3 separate regions of the Homo sapiens genome follow, and regions 1 and 2 are each linked to region 3. Evidence: promoter capture Hi-C in human tissues and cell types (Jung and others, 2019). All regions are on one chromosome and are shown on one strand. Each heading gives the region's core, a stretch centred on a gene start or on the middle of the fragment in contact. The rest is flanking DNA. Distances are from core to core; before and after follow the strand shown.

Region 1 (4,435 bases), core at 1,282-3,781, 80 kb after region 3:
CCCAATAATTTTTCGGCTTTACTTGTGGTTATTCTTCAGATGCTTAATCACATAATTGAGGATAATATACTTAGCAACAGGAAAAACTCTTACGTTGTTATGCTATCTGAGACATTTGAGCAATTATTGTAGGGATAATGATGGACAAGGTCAAAAAGCACAAATAATTTATGTGAATAGTTGGCCCAGAATCCTATGACACTTGTCACTGTTGTATGGATGTCTCGGCATTAATTCACATCCATGGCCTCATGGGGGATTTCGTTAAGTTTCTGGAAAAGGAGGAAAATACTCAGGCTTAGTTCATGAATAGACTGGTAGACAAGTTGATGCTAACCAAAAATTGTGTGCAGTGGCACAATAGCCCTACCTTTGATGGCATAAAGGAGAGTGGTGAAGGAAAACATTTCCAAAGGGCAGAGTTGTGAGTAGTACTCTTGGTTGTTAATGTTGTTTGGGGGAGAAGTTGTCTGAAGTCTGTGGATATACATGGACTAGGACTTTGCTAAAAGGCTTGGATAATTTGTCAACAGATGGAACTAGCAACTTTGTTAGAAGAGATGTAAGAAAGTCTGCATGTGATGTGCTATTGAAGCACACACAAAGGATGAAAAGCTCTGTGTCTTATGTTAATATTCACTACAGAGTATTCACTTCAGAGGAGGGACTCAACAACCAGCTATAAAGTATCTATACGTTGATATCAGCCAGCCTTTGCTCTGCCATTGCTAGTCCAGTGAGCCCATAAATGAAACCATAAAATCAGGGATAGAGATAAATATGAGCCAAAAGTACAGATTCTCTTACACCAAGATAAATCTTGGTTTAAAAAAAAATGAAAAATAGTGTTATCCTTACTCCTAGAATGTTAACAATGTAATTACCAACTTTTAACTCTTCAGCTAACAGCAGCAGTAACTGATGCTGAGCACATAATATGGTATCTTGTATTTACATTAGGTAGCCCCTGCACATAATAAAGGGCAAAATAATTCCATCTAGATAAGACCCAATGTGGAATTACATTGATGTGTATTTTAGGATCCACCCTATAGAATCTCTATTTTGGAATCGCATATATAATCAAGAATTTCAAGAAAAGAAACTAATTAAAGTGTTTTCTGTGTGTCATTCAGAAAATAACAACTGACTTATTTAGAAAGTTTCTCACATTAAATGTGAACTTTTATAATTGTATACAGAGCCTGAATTAATACTTTATGTAGCTTTCATACTGCTTACAAATATAATTAGTTGTTTATATATGTTTCTTCACTTCATATTGAAAACAAAATCATAATTTAGTTGGCAATGACATGAATTTATTGACAAAGAAATTGACTAAATAAATGTCACATAACCTATAAATTGCTTAGTTTGGACTGTTGGAGGCATGTGTGGGCACTTTGGGACAATTACTCCATTGTAGCAAAGCACTTATTCATAAATGGCTTTATCTCTAATCAGAAATAGCTGATGATTAGATTTGGAGTGCTTCTGAATTAAGACCTTGATAATGGCCTTTTGAATCTGCTTAATCTTTACACTGTAAATAATAGGGTTGAGCACAGGAGGGATTAGCAGAAAGACATTGGCCATGATGATGTGGACAAATGGAGGTGCTGAATGGCCATAGCGATGGACAAGAGACAAACTGATGAGAGGGAGGTAGAAGATGGAAACAGCACTGATGTGGGATGTGCAGGTGTTGAAGGCTTTCCGCCTCTCTTCTGAGGAAGCAATGCTGAGGACAGATCGAATGATCAGGATATAGGAGAGCAGGATGCAAGGGCAGTCAAACCCTGTAGTGGACAAAAGCGCAAACAGACCAAGGATGCTGTTGATCCTATTGTCTGTGCAGGAGAGTTGGATGAGATCAACATGGTAGCAGTAAGAATGTGAAAGGACCATAGAACTGCAGAAGGACAACCTCTTGACAAAGAGCATGACTGGCAACATGACGGCAACATTTCTTATCAACATGCTCATCCCAATCTTGGCAATTCGGGCATTGGTAAGGATGGTAGTGTATCTCAGTGGGTAACAGATGGCCACAAAACGATCAAAGGCCATGGCCAGTAGAACCCCAGACTCCATGAAAGTAAATCCGTGTAGAAAGAACATCTGGGCAATGCAGGCATTTAGGTTGATTTCTCGGGCTTCAAACCAGAAGACACCAAGGGTAGTAGAAAGTGTACACAGGGACAAGCTCAGGTCTGTGGCTGAAAGCATAGAGAGGAAATAGTACATAGGCTTATGGAGGCTCCGTTCACAGAGGACCACAAACAGGATCATGCTATTTCCAGAGACGGCAACAACATATAGGAGACAAAAAGGGATGGAGATCCAGTACTGGGTGGCTTTCAGGCCTGGAATGCCCATCAGGAGGAAGATCAGAGGCTCAGCAATGGTATTATTGAGGACCGACATAGGGAAGCACTGAGAAGACAGGGATGTTTCAGTCATTTAACATAACACATAATACATAGTTTATCACTTGTAACATCTCTCTGGCACTTCAAGATTCACTGAGTTATTATTTCTAATTTTCAAAGAACTTGAATTTTCTTTTTAGCTTCCCAGAGCTACACATTTCTCTCCAAGTCTGTCAGTGTTTCACATTTATTGAGAAAAGTGAATTCCCTGAACTGTGCCACATCAAATTTTCTTAAGTATATTAAGCCTATAATTCTCATTACTAGCAATAAACATTACAATTAAGTCACGTCTGCCAATATAAATCCCCAGTAAAATTCCTAAACAATATTATGAGAAACCTGCTTTCCAGTACTTGTTGAAAATAAATTTTGATTCTGGAATAAAACACTGAGCAAACTAAGTCATATCTGAAATGTGAATATTATTATATTTCCTTGGAAAATATCCAGAAGAATGCCAAAAAATCCCTGGGACACACAGGCCCATATATGTGGTAATAGGGTGGCCCAAAAAAACACCCTAAGAAAAATAAATATTGATCGCATTTGTTGGGAGTTCCCTGTGTTGTTGACATTTTATATGCATTATATAATTTCATCCATACACCAACTCTTGGAGATAGATCGTACACGAATTTTGCAGATGAGCAAGCTAAGACTCAGCAATTAATCACCCAATGTTATCTTTATAAAGCACTGCCTAAATGTTGAGAGAAACCACAAAAGTAAGAAAGTTGGAGAAAGGAGAGAGACAACGATGACAGAGGAGGAGGAGAAGAAGGAGGAGAAAGAGAAAGACTAGTGAAGGTGGAGGCAGGTAAGAGCACAAAGGGGAAGAGGAGGAAAGTGCAAGAGGAGGAGGAGGAATAAGAGGAAGAAGGGAGGGAGTGAGAAAGAAGGGAAGGAAGAAAGGGAAGGAATGGAGGAAAAAAGCAAACCTTACCATAATTTTACTACAATAAATTAAGCACTACACTATGATAAATAATACCACAGACTAGTATCAAAATAAAAAAAACACAATAGCCAGCATTTCTTGAACATGTGCCATATGCCAGACACAATTATCTTCATATCCATAATATGATCCAATCATTATTATTCAACAAAGAAAATAAATTTCTTATCCCTAATATACATATGAAGAAACTGATATTTACATTAAGTAATTTGCCCCAAATTATGCAGTTAGGCAGTAGAAGAAATGAGGATGAAACCTGCATATCTAACCTCAATGCCTTCACTCAGTAAAGCTGAGGAATGCATAAAAGGAATTTCTAAACCAGTCTGACAAAGGCTCCAGGTGTATGATTTTAAAGAGACATACTATGGTCCGTGTGGTATCTTTGGAGGGGAGTTTGATGTGTCAAATGTTAATTCCATGTGAACTGTGGAGATATGAAGCTCTTTAGGCTTCTCTGGAAAGTAGTCTTAATATCGATAGTTCCTGTATGCAAAGGGCCAAGAAAATCAGGTATCCAGGCTATATCCACTATGGAAAATAACACCAAAATGGAACCATCAAATTCAGTTGAGGCCAGGCACAGGGTTCATGCCTGTTATCCCAACACTTTGGGAGGTCGAGGCGGGAGGATCACTTGAGCCCAGGAGTTCAAGACCAGCATGGGTAACATAGGGAAACCCCATCTCTACAAAAACGTTTACAAATTAGCCAGGCATGGTGGTACATGTCTGTAGGTCCCAACTACTGGGTAAGCTGAAGTAGGAGAATTTCTTGAGCTCAGAAGTCAAGATTGCAGTGAGTCATGAATGTGTCACTGTACTCCAGCCTGAGTGACAGAGAGAAACACTGTCTCAAAAAAAAAAAAAAAAAAAAAAAAAAAAAATCAGTCGACTCATTTCAGTGACCATCTCATTCTTTCAACAATACATATTTTGTTGATGATTCTGGAAATTTTCTCTCCCTCATTATTTTATGATACCAGTCTCTCTTAATATTCTCCCATTAATCAGCTCTTTCTCTGACTGTTTCAGTT
Region 2 (4,248 bases), core at 530-3,029, 93 kb before region 3:
TTATTTTACCCCATGCCAGAAAAATATTCCATGTTTTCTCCTTTAATTCTTTCAGTCCTGAAATAAATCATATTTTCTTAAATTCTCACATAGAATGCAAAGAACAAAGTGGATCACTACTCTTTAGAATTCTCTTTCTCCCTGCTTTATGTGCAAGTCCCCTATGTGCAGATTGCGATGTTTAGAAAACTTCAGTTGTAGACTGGCCAATAGATTTGAGGTTAGGACAGGCAGGAATATTTCTGTTTGTAATCCCTATTAATTTTTAACTGTGTATATTTAAGGTATACAGAATGATGTTTATATATATATATGCATATACATAGACATATACATAGTGAAATGGTCATTACTATGTGCCTGTGTGTGTGTGTGTGCATGCACACACGTGCATGTGTATGCTAAGAACACCTAAGCTCTACTCTCTTGGCAAATTTTCGGTATACAATTTCTGTGGTTTTAATTCTTGCTCATATTGGTTTATCCCTCACTTAAAAAGAGTCCCCATTTCTACAATATTATTAACTCACTGCTTTATCTCATTGATTTATCCCTCACCTGAAAAGAGTTCCCATTCTACAATATTATGAACTGTGGTCATGCTGTATATTAGATCTCTAGACTTATTCTTCCTACATAACTGCAAGTTTGTATGCTTTGAGCTACTTTTCCGCATTTCCTCCACTACCCGGGCCCCCTAAGCCCCTTTCCCGTTTCTATTTCTGTGTGTACTTTCCCTTTCTTATCCTCTCACTGCCATATCTGTCATGTCTTTCACTTTTTAAAATCCATTTATTGTCTTTTCTCTATTCATTTTCTTTTGACTCTATTTCTGGGTCACTGACAATGATTCTTTGTGGTTCTTTGTTGATTTTAGTACAACTTAATCACACTGAGGTCGAAAGAGAAATAATAGAAAAGAACTGGGAGTAATAACAAGACTGTTTCAAAGGGCAGAGGCATGAATAGGCTTATGTCACACATTCACCTATTCCAGGTAATTAAGGGAGAACTACTGAACATAAGACCATTTTTTTACAGCCTCTCTAGTATCAAAACCTATTCTCTGCTAATCAGCTTATCGCTTATCTTAAAATCGCTGAAAATAATTGGAACAAGACATTACAATACTGTAATAAATTTAATTTTTTTCACAGATGAGAATAATTCTTTTTCCTTTTGCATAAATGGTACATCATCTTTCTCATAATTTTACTCTCTTTAGCAAACTATATCCACATACAAAATGTGCTAAAATCTACCAACTATTTATAATTTAAAAATTCACACTTACCTGAAATTTAAATATAAGGCAATTGAATCAATATGCCTAGTTAATTTGCAATCAGTAGCCCATTTCTCAAATGATCCACAGTTCCATTTTGTCTTTCTCTGACTAAACTTTTCTTCACTATAGTTAAAGTCATATTTTCTTTCTGTTCCTATGTCTGTGGCTTTTTCTCTCTTTATCTCATTTTATGTGTCAAATTATCTTTACTATCTTTTCTAGCCTCCTTCCTGCTGCCATTTTTTTATATTTTGTTTTTATCTAAGTTTGTGTCTTTTCAGCATGTAATCCTCTATTTTTTCCGGTCCCTTTGATTGGCTGTTTCTTTCTTCTAATTTCTCTTTGTGTGTCTGTGGTTTAAGTTGCTGCTCTTACGGGCTTATCTCTCACCTGAGAAAACTTCCCATCTCTACCTGAAAATCAAACCTGTACTGATTAAAGATGCTACAATTTTAAGTCTCTATGAACCTCAGGTTTTGAAAACCTTCGACTCTGTGAGTGGTGAGGCTTGAAGGCTTCCACCATCTCTATAAATACTCCTGGTGTCTCCTGGCAAAGAAAATTAGGGATTGGTGTCAGAGTCTGTTGGATCCCCAGAGATGAAATGGCCATAAAAAGCCCTTAACCACAGGTATGGCAAGAGCATATGATCATAATACTGAAAATAGTAGAAATGCATCCCTGTTTTCATCCACCATTCTTAGTTCTCTAATAGTTTTCTCAAATGAGTGTAAGAAAGTAAATTTATGATAACTACTGTGATCCAGAAGAATACTGAAATTTCGGCTTTAACTAGGGGCATTGTACAGAACAATGATGAGAAAGTGCAATGATAAGTCTTTCCATTATAAGATGTTTACCACATTTCACTAAACAGAGTTATTTATTAGTCATGTGCTTCATAAGCATTTATTAAGCAACAGGGTTCAAGAAGGCACACTAAGCACTTTAAAGGCAAACGCTACTATCCAGTTCATTGCTGCTTCCTCAGTGCTTGGTAAGAAGCATCATCTCCCAACACATTTTTTTTCTTTGCATATTGGCTATCCTACCTCTTTGCATTTATTAATAAATTTTAGAAACAGGTTATCCATTTCTACCAAGATATACATTGAGACTACTATTGAGAATGTATTGAATCTGTAGATCGATTTGGGGAGAATTTACATGTTTAGAATGTAAGATAACTAATCCAAGAACAGGAACTTCAATTAATTAAGGTCTTTATTTTTTCTCAATATTATTTTATACTTGTCTGTTTGGAGATTACATATTTTACACTAGGTTTATTCTCACATATTTGGCATTCAATTGTGCTAACGTAAGTAGCATGATTAATTTTTTCTAAATATTTGGGACTGTTACATAAAAATAAAGTTAATTTTTCTTTTTTCAGAAAAGCTGAACTTATTTTTTATTTTTAATAAGTGATCTGTATTCTCTAAGGCCTTATTTTGCACCAAATCACACCTCCACAAGTAATGTCAGCTTCTTTTTCTCTTATTTAAAATCTTCATTATCGTTTTCTATATTTATTGCTTTGTTGCATTGGATAAGATCTCCAGTGCATTTTGGGGAGAAGGGATAAAAATTGTTTTCTTTTCTTTTTGCAGATATCACAGGTGTGGTTAACAACATTTTACCATTAAGTATGTTTGCTAAGATTTTTTGTACCTGCTTTTATCCGAGAATGTTGTCATCTTCTATTGTTCATGTGATAAGGGATTTTGTCAAAAATAGATGCTGAATTTCATAAAATTATTTTGGGTTTATTGAAATTCATGCTTTTATGATACATATTATTTTTCTTTAATATCATGTTAATGTGATTAATTATATTGATTGATTTTCAAATATCAACTTGTCTTTCTGGAATAAACTCAAGTTTGGAATGCCATTTTCTTTTCTTTATTTATTGCCAGATTTGGTTTGCAAATATTTCGTTTAGAATTTTGACATCGATGTTCATCAGTAAGCACGGCCTGAAATTTTCCTTACTGTAATGTCTTTGTCATGTTTTGTTATGAGATTGAGATTACACAAAGCTCTAAAATACCTGAAGAAATATTCTTTCTCTTCTCCCCGGGAAGATTTTGCATATGCTGGTATGTTGTTTTTTAATTAAATGGCCATCCCAGGGTAGTTTTAATTATAGGCTTTCTAGTTAATCCTTACGGACAATTCAGGTTTTCTCTTTGTCAGTTTTAAAACTAGTTGTGGAGAGATGTAATTAAGGATTACATTATCCAACATTTATAGGACCATTTAGATCTTCTATTTATTCTTTTACCAATTTTTATAAATTGTATTTATCTAGGAATACATAGTTTGGATATACATTTTGATATTTATTGGTTATAAGTTATTCTTAAGTACTTTCATAATTTTTCAAGATCTGCAGTAGTCACACGGTATCTGCTTTTCTCATTACTCATGTTGTTTTGATATGCATTTTCTTTTTTATACTACTAGTGTCACAGTAGATTGACAGTTTCATTGGCTTTTCAAATAGTCAACTTCAGAGGTTAGGTTCTCCAGAAGCAAATACAAAGGGAGAGTTTGAGATGCAAAGGACTTGTTAGGAATTGAGTGTTGATTCAGCTGCCCTGAACTTAACTTTGTTTAAGTTACTTGACTTAACCAAAGTTTCATAGCTAATAACTAGATAAGCCATTAAACCAATTGGTCTCCATAACTGGCATATTCAATACAGCATAGAAAATAACATTCCTTAAACTCTACCTGTGTAGGAAAATGCAAAGGTCTATTCCTAATCTTATGCTTTCTTTTCTTGCAGTCCCGTGGCCATCTCTGCCAGAGTTCTCCACTGTTGTGTACACTTCTTTCTTGTTCTGATCACAGTGGTTGAACATAGCAAATGCTGAGACATATCAAATTATGAGGACAAAATATTACTCTTTAAAACAATCTTTATTGTGACTCAGTAGCGTTTTGAGTGT
Region 3 (4,211 bases), core at 1,495-3,994:
AGTTATGTTAGGCTGTCTGATAGTCTCTAACACAATGAAGATAATCAGTAAATAGCAGAGATGAATAACTACTTCAATAAAACTTCCTTAGCCATTTTCCTTCCAGACATCAAGTCCTAGATTGGACAAGAGTAATTTATATTTTTTAATTGACAATAAGGCTTGCTTTTATTTGTCATATTATTAAGTAAATAAATCTCTACTGATATTAGGGCATTAGAAAAACACCCCGATATTTAACCTTCTTGTTTAACCGTCAGGGCATAATATATTCACTCTTCATGTATGCACACACACTGAAACCACTTACTCTTCCTCCCCATAGACATGTATTCAGATATAAGCAGTTTAACAAACCTTAGATTTAGGTTTCCAAAAGGATTTATAGCTCCTTAACCTTACCAGAACCAGATGCTCAGTAAGTTCCTGAAGGATAAAAACAAGAATTCTCCACTTTCACTTCCACTTTATCTAGAGGTACCTACTTCTCTTTTCCTCAGGTGACTAGACCCTTGAGAGTAATCAAGCTTACACAGAAAGGGTTAGGCCTGGGGCTGGTACATTACTTTGTATTCATTGTACCTTAACAGAAACTAGAGGCAAATTGTGAGACAAACTACAGGGAGACTACTCATCTGAAAGGTAAACATTTGAAGTTGAAGAAGCTTGACACATGGGATTTGTAGAGGTTGGAAAATATAGTTAAAATAACATGTTATCTATAATCAAAACACTTTATGTCCAATTCTAAGTCAAACCACTTAAACGTTCTTCATCTTAGCTTAATCATCCACAAAATGGAGATAGTAATCTATAAGTATCAAATATTTAGAAAAGCACTTTACAAACTATAAAATGGTTTACCAGTCATTCCACTTATTTGTATGATCCATTTTTGGCAAAATATTAACATTGAAATAGACATAGCCTGTCGTACTCTGTTAGATTTTTAAAGCAGTGTCTCAAAACTACATGCCTTCCACATTATATTGCATTCACTAGAACCGTCCGAGGAGTATCCTGCGTTTTATTCACATATTTCTATTTTATATGTCAGTTCCATCATGGTTTAAATTAAATAATAATTATTTAAGGCTATGAAACAATATAAAAATGTGAAGACAATTTAAGTAAAAATGTATAAAATAAGGATATATATATAACTGTTTTAAGTATTTCTTAAAGCATATTTCTAAGTTAAAAAGAAAAACTTTGGTTAAAATAATGGAAAGCCTTACATTAATAATAAAATAATTTTAATTAATACAATTTAATGGAATAATAATATAAAAGACACAACATGGCTCAAATACAAAATACATATATCTGTGAATAAGAAATGAATAGAAATTTAAAACAATGAGCAGGGATAAGCCCACTCATTGCTAGTTCCCATGTCTGGAGAAGACGATCAACTCCCATAAGATAAATGAGATTACATATTCTCCATGTTAAGTTATCTGAAGCAAATAGACTTATTAAATGTCATTGGGCTATTCTAGCAGATGCATTTGATACCCACCTTATTATCTTGGGACTTAACATTTTATTATAAGTTGCTAATTGGAAGAAAATATTTGCAAAAGACACAAGAATTCTTGAAACTCAATAAGAAAACAAACAACACAACTAAAAAGTGTGTCAAACAATAGCAAAGACATGAAACCAACCCAGGTGCCAACAGAAGGTTGGATAAAGAAAATGTGATACATGTACACCAGGGAATACTACACAGCCACAAAAAAAGAACAAAATCGTGTCCTCTGGAGCAACATGGATGCATCTGGAAGCCATTATCCTGAGCAAATTAACACAGCAACAGAAAACCAGATACTGTGTTCTTACTTGTAAGTGAGAAAAGATTCTAGAAAACAGATTGCCAATAAGAAATTCTAGAGTTGGATTCATCACTGTCTGCATCACAATAGGAACCACATCACTGGTTGCAGATGAAATGTTGATGGTCCCTGACATGCTGTAGCAAGTTATTGTTAAAATTTTCATCTGAAGTGAACTGTAATAGTACCCAGAGGAAAGGTAACTCACAAGATTTATTTATAAATAGAGCATTCTCTGTAAACTGGATTCTCTTACTGGCTACTTTTGTGTGTGTAACGAAAAGGGTCATGGAGGACTACTGTGGACTCCAATCTCAACCAAGTAGAAACATCAGTTTAAAGTTTTATGTCAGGTGCAGTGTTTTTACCAGGGAAGATTAAGATTAACCTGGATTCGATTATCAAGTATGTAGTATTTATGTGGCAAATATATTCTCTTCCATCTTCTATAATAAATCTATAATTTGAAAATACTTATTTTCTTTGGATATTTTGCATAATATTTTATTGACCCACTATATCAATGACAATATATTAATCAGGTAGACGAGCATGAAATGCAAGTATATTGGCATTCTTGTCAAAACACAGTGCTCTTTAGGTGGGAAAGGATAGAGATAAACACCCATACAAAAAAGTAGGAATCTTAAACATTAGAGAAGTTTTTAGGGATCCTGCGGTATAGGAAAAATTGCGACAGCCTCTCTCAGTTAATAGACAAACTAAAGCATTTTTTATCTTTTACCACCAAGAAGAAAGTACCACATGTAGTGACCTCCTGAAACCCCGGAGGCAGCATATGCCACACTTTGAGTGCTAATTCTACTCACATAACAGAAAGACGTATGCCCATGCTAAGACACAAGTAAGACCATCAAGCACAACTGAAAGAGCACAAAGAGGGGGCCGGGCATGGTGGCTCACACCTGTAATCCCAGCACTTTGGGAGGCCGAGGCAGGCGGATCACAAGGTCAGGAGATTGAGACCATCCCGGCAAACACTGTGAAACCCCGTCTCTACTAAAAATACAAAAAAATTAGCCAGGTGTGGTGGCAGGCACCTGTAGTCTCAGCTACTCAGGAGGCTGAGGCAGGAGAATGGCATGAACCCCGGGGGGCAGAGCTTGCAGTGAGCGGAGATCACGCCACTGCACTCCAGACTGGGCGACAGAGTGAGACTCCGTCTCAAAAAAAAAAAAAAAAAAAAAAAAAAAGCACAAAGAGGTGATGCGAAGTCCACTGATGTTAGTGCACTACTATTGCAATGTGGTGCACTTTCCCTAAGCTTACACTTGTAGCTACGTGGATGATCCCTTATGACCAGCTGGTGGGGGATGAAAGCCAAGTTAGTTCATAAATGAGTAAAGTTGGTATGCCAAAAATGAACTGTAGATGTGTTACTGATCCATTAAGGAGTGACTTTGAAAGATAGTACTTAGGAGAAATACATCCCACGGACAAATCAGCTGATGGACTCACTCATCCTCTTTGTATAAAAAAGAGGTGGTTCTATGTAAGAATACACAAAAATTCAACTTATTGTTAATGGTGGGTAACTTGGCTAATTGACCAGGCTGTTGGAAGGAGAAAGACTGGAATACTAGTGACAAAGAGGCAGAGGGATGAAGTGGCATGTGGATGGTTCTAGAAGTTAGAACAAAGTTTGAAGATCTTTATATAAAAGATCAATGTTCATCATAGTCTATACATAATGGAAAAGAACCTAAGCTATAAAGAACACTGAGTGGACCTGACAATTTATATCAGCTAGATTCTGATATAAGCAACCTCAGTGGTGGCATAATTGGCTCCTAATTGAAGTAGCTATAGTGGCAGGATGAAAACTGCATAAACACAAAGCATAGTTTCCCACTCAACAAGGCTGATAAAACTTCTCTTTCTACTAAATATTAACCTGGCAATGATAGAAAACAATGTTAACTGCCCAATGTAGCATCACTTCTTGAGTAGAAAATGGCCACTTAATGGAAGATTATTCTACCCCACAAAAGGCAGCAAATGAACTTGATAGAAATTGACACATATGATGGGTGTAGGTTTGTTTTATTTTCTTGAAGAGTCATAGCCAAACCTAGTATCTCAGGGCTTACAAAGGGTTTGATCCACCAGCATAGGACATTATGTTATATCACTTCATGAAAAGGGACACATTTTAGAATACTTGCAACAGTAGACACACAACCATGCTTGTATCATGGGCTACACCACTCAAAAGCTTCCAATCTGGTACAGAAATAGAACAGGTAGAGTTGAGTCTCCACCTTAGAGACGACATTAGTGAGGATGAGACAACATACCCCAGATGCGTCATGTACAACACACCAACAATCATTATACATAGCTTTGACTGCA

The links. The method cuts DNA at HindIII sites, captures the fragments that hold promoters and counts their contacts. A contact is called where the count stands out against the background at its distance.
Region 1: a contact is called between the fragment with the promoter of OR51F2 here and a fragment that was not itself captured in region 3, in 2 of the 25 tissues and cell types used here (small bowel and thymus).
Region 2: a contact is called between the fragment with the promoter of OR51L1 here and a fragment that was not itself captured in region 3, in 2 of the 25 tissues and cell types used here (mesenchymal stem cells and thymus).

Annotation. Positions count from the first base shown.
Region 1 is chr11:4,819,417-4,823,851 of GRCh38, reverse strand. It overlaps OR51F2 (olfactory receptor family 51 subfamily F member 2), which reads right to left and starts at 2,531. Exons shown (of 1, transcript NM_001004753.2): 1 at 1,396-2,531. The coding sequence starts at 2,430. The coding sequence ends at 1,438. The region is part of intron 2 of MMP26 (matrix metallopeptidase 26); the gene reads right to left. The HindIII fragment of the contact is 11,845 bases long and covers 1-4,435 here.
Region 2 is chr11:4,992,382-4,996,629 of GRCh38, reverse strand. OR51L1 (olfactory receptor family 51 subfamily L member 1) reads right to left here and starts at 1,779. Exons shown (of 3, transcript NM_001004755.2): 1 at 1,295-1,779. MMP26 (matrix metallopeptidase 26) reads right to left here. Exons shown (of 8, transcript NM_021801.5): 8 at 4,201-4,248. The HindIII fragment of the contact is 11,490 bases long and covers 1-2,521 here.
Region 3 is chr11:4,899,991-4,904,201 of GRCh38, reverse strand. The region is part of intron 2 of MMP26 (matrix metallopeptidase 26); the gene reads right to left. It overlaps OR51A7 (olfactory receptor family 51 subfamily A member 7), which reads right to left and starts at 419. Exons shown (of 2, transcript NM_001004749.2): 1 at 358-419. The HindIII fragment of the contact is 6,232 bases long and covers 1-4,211 here.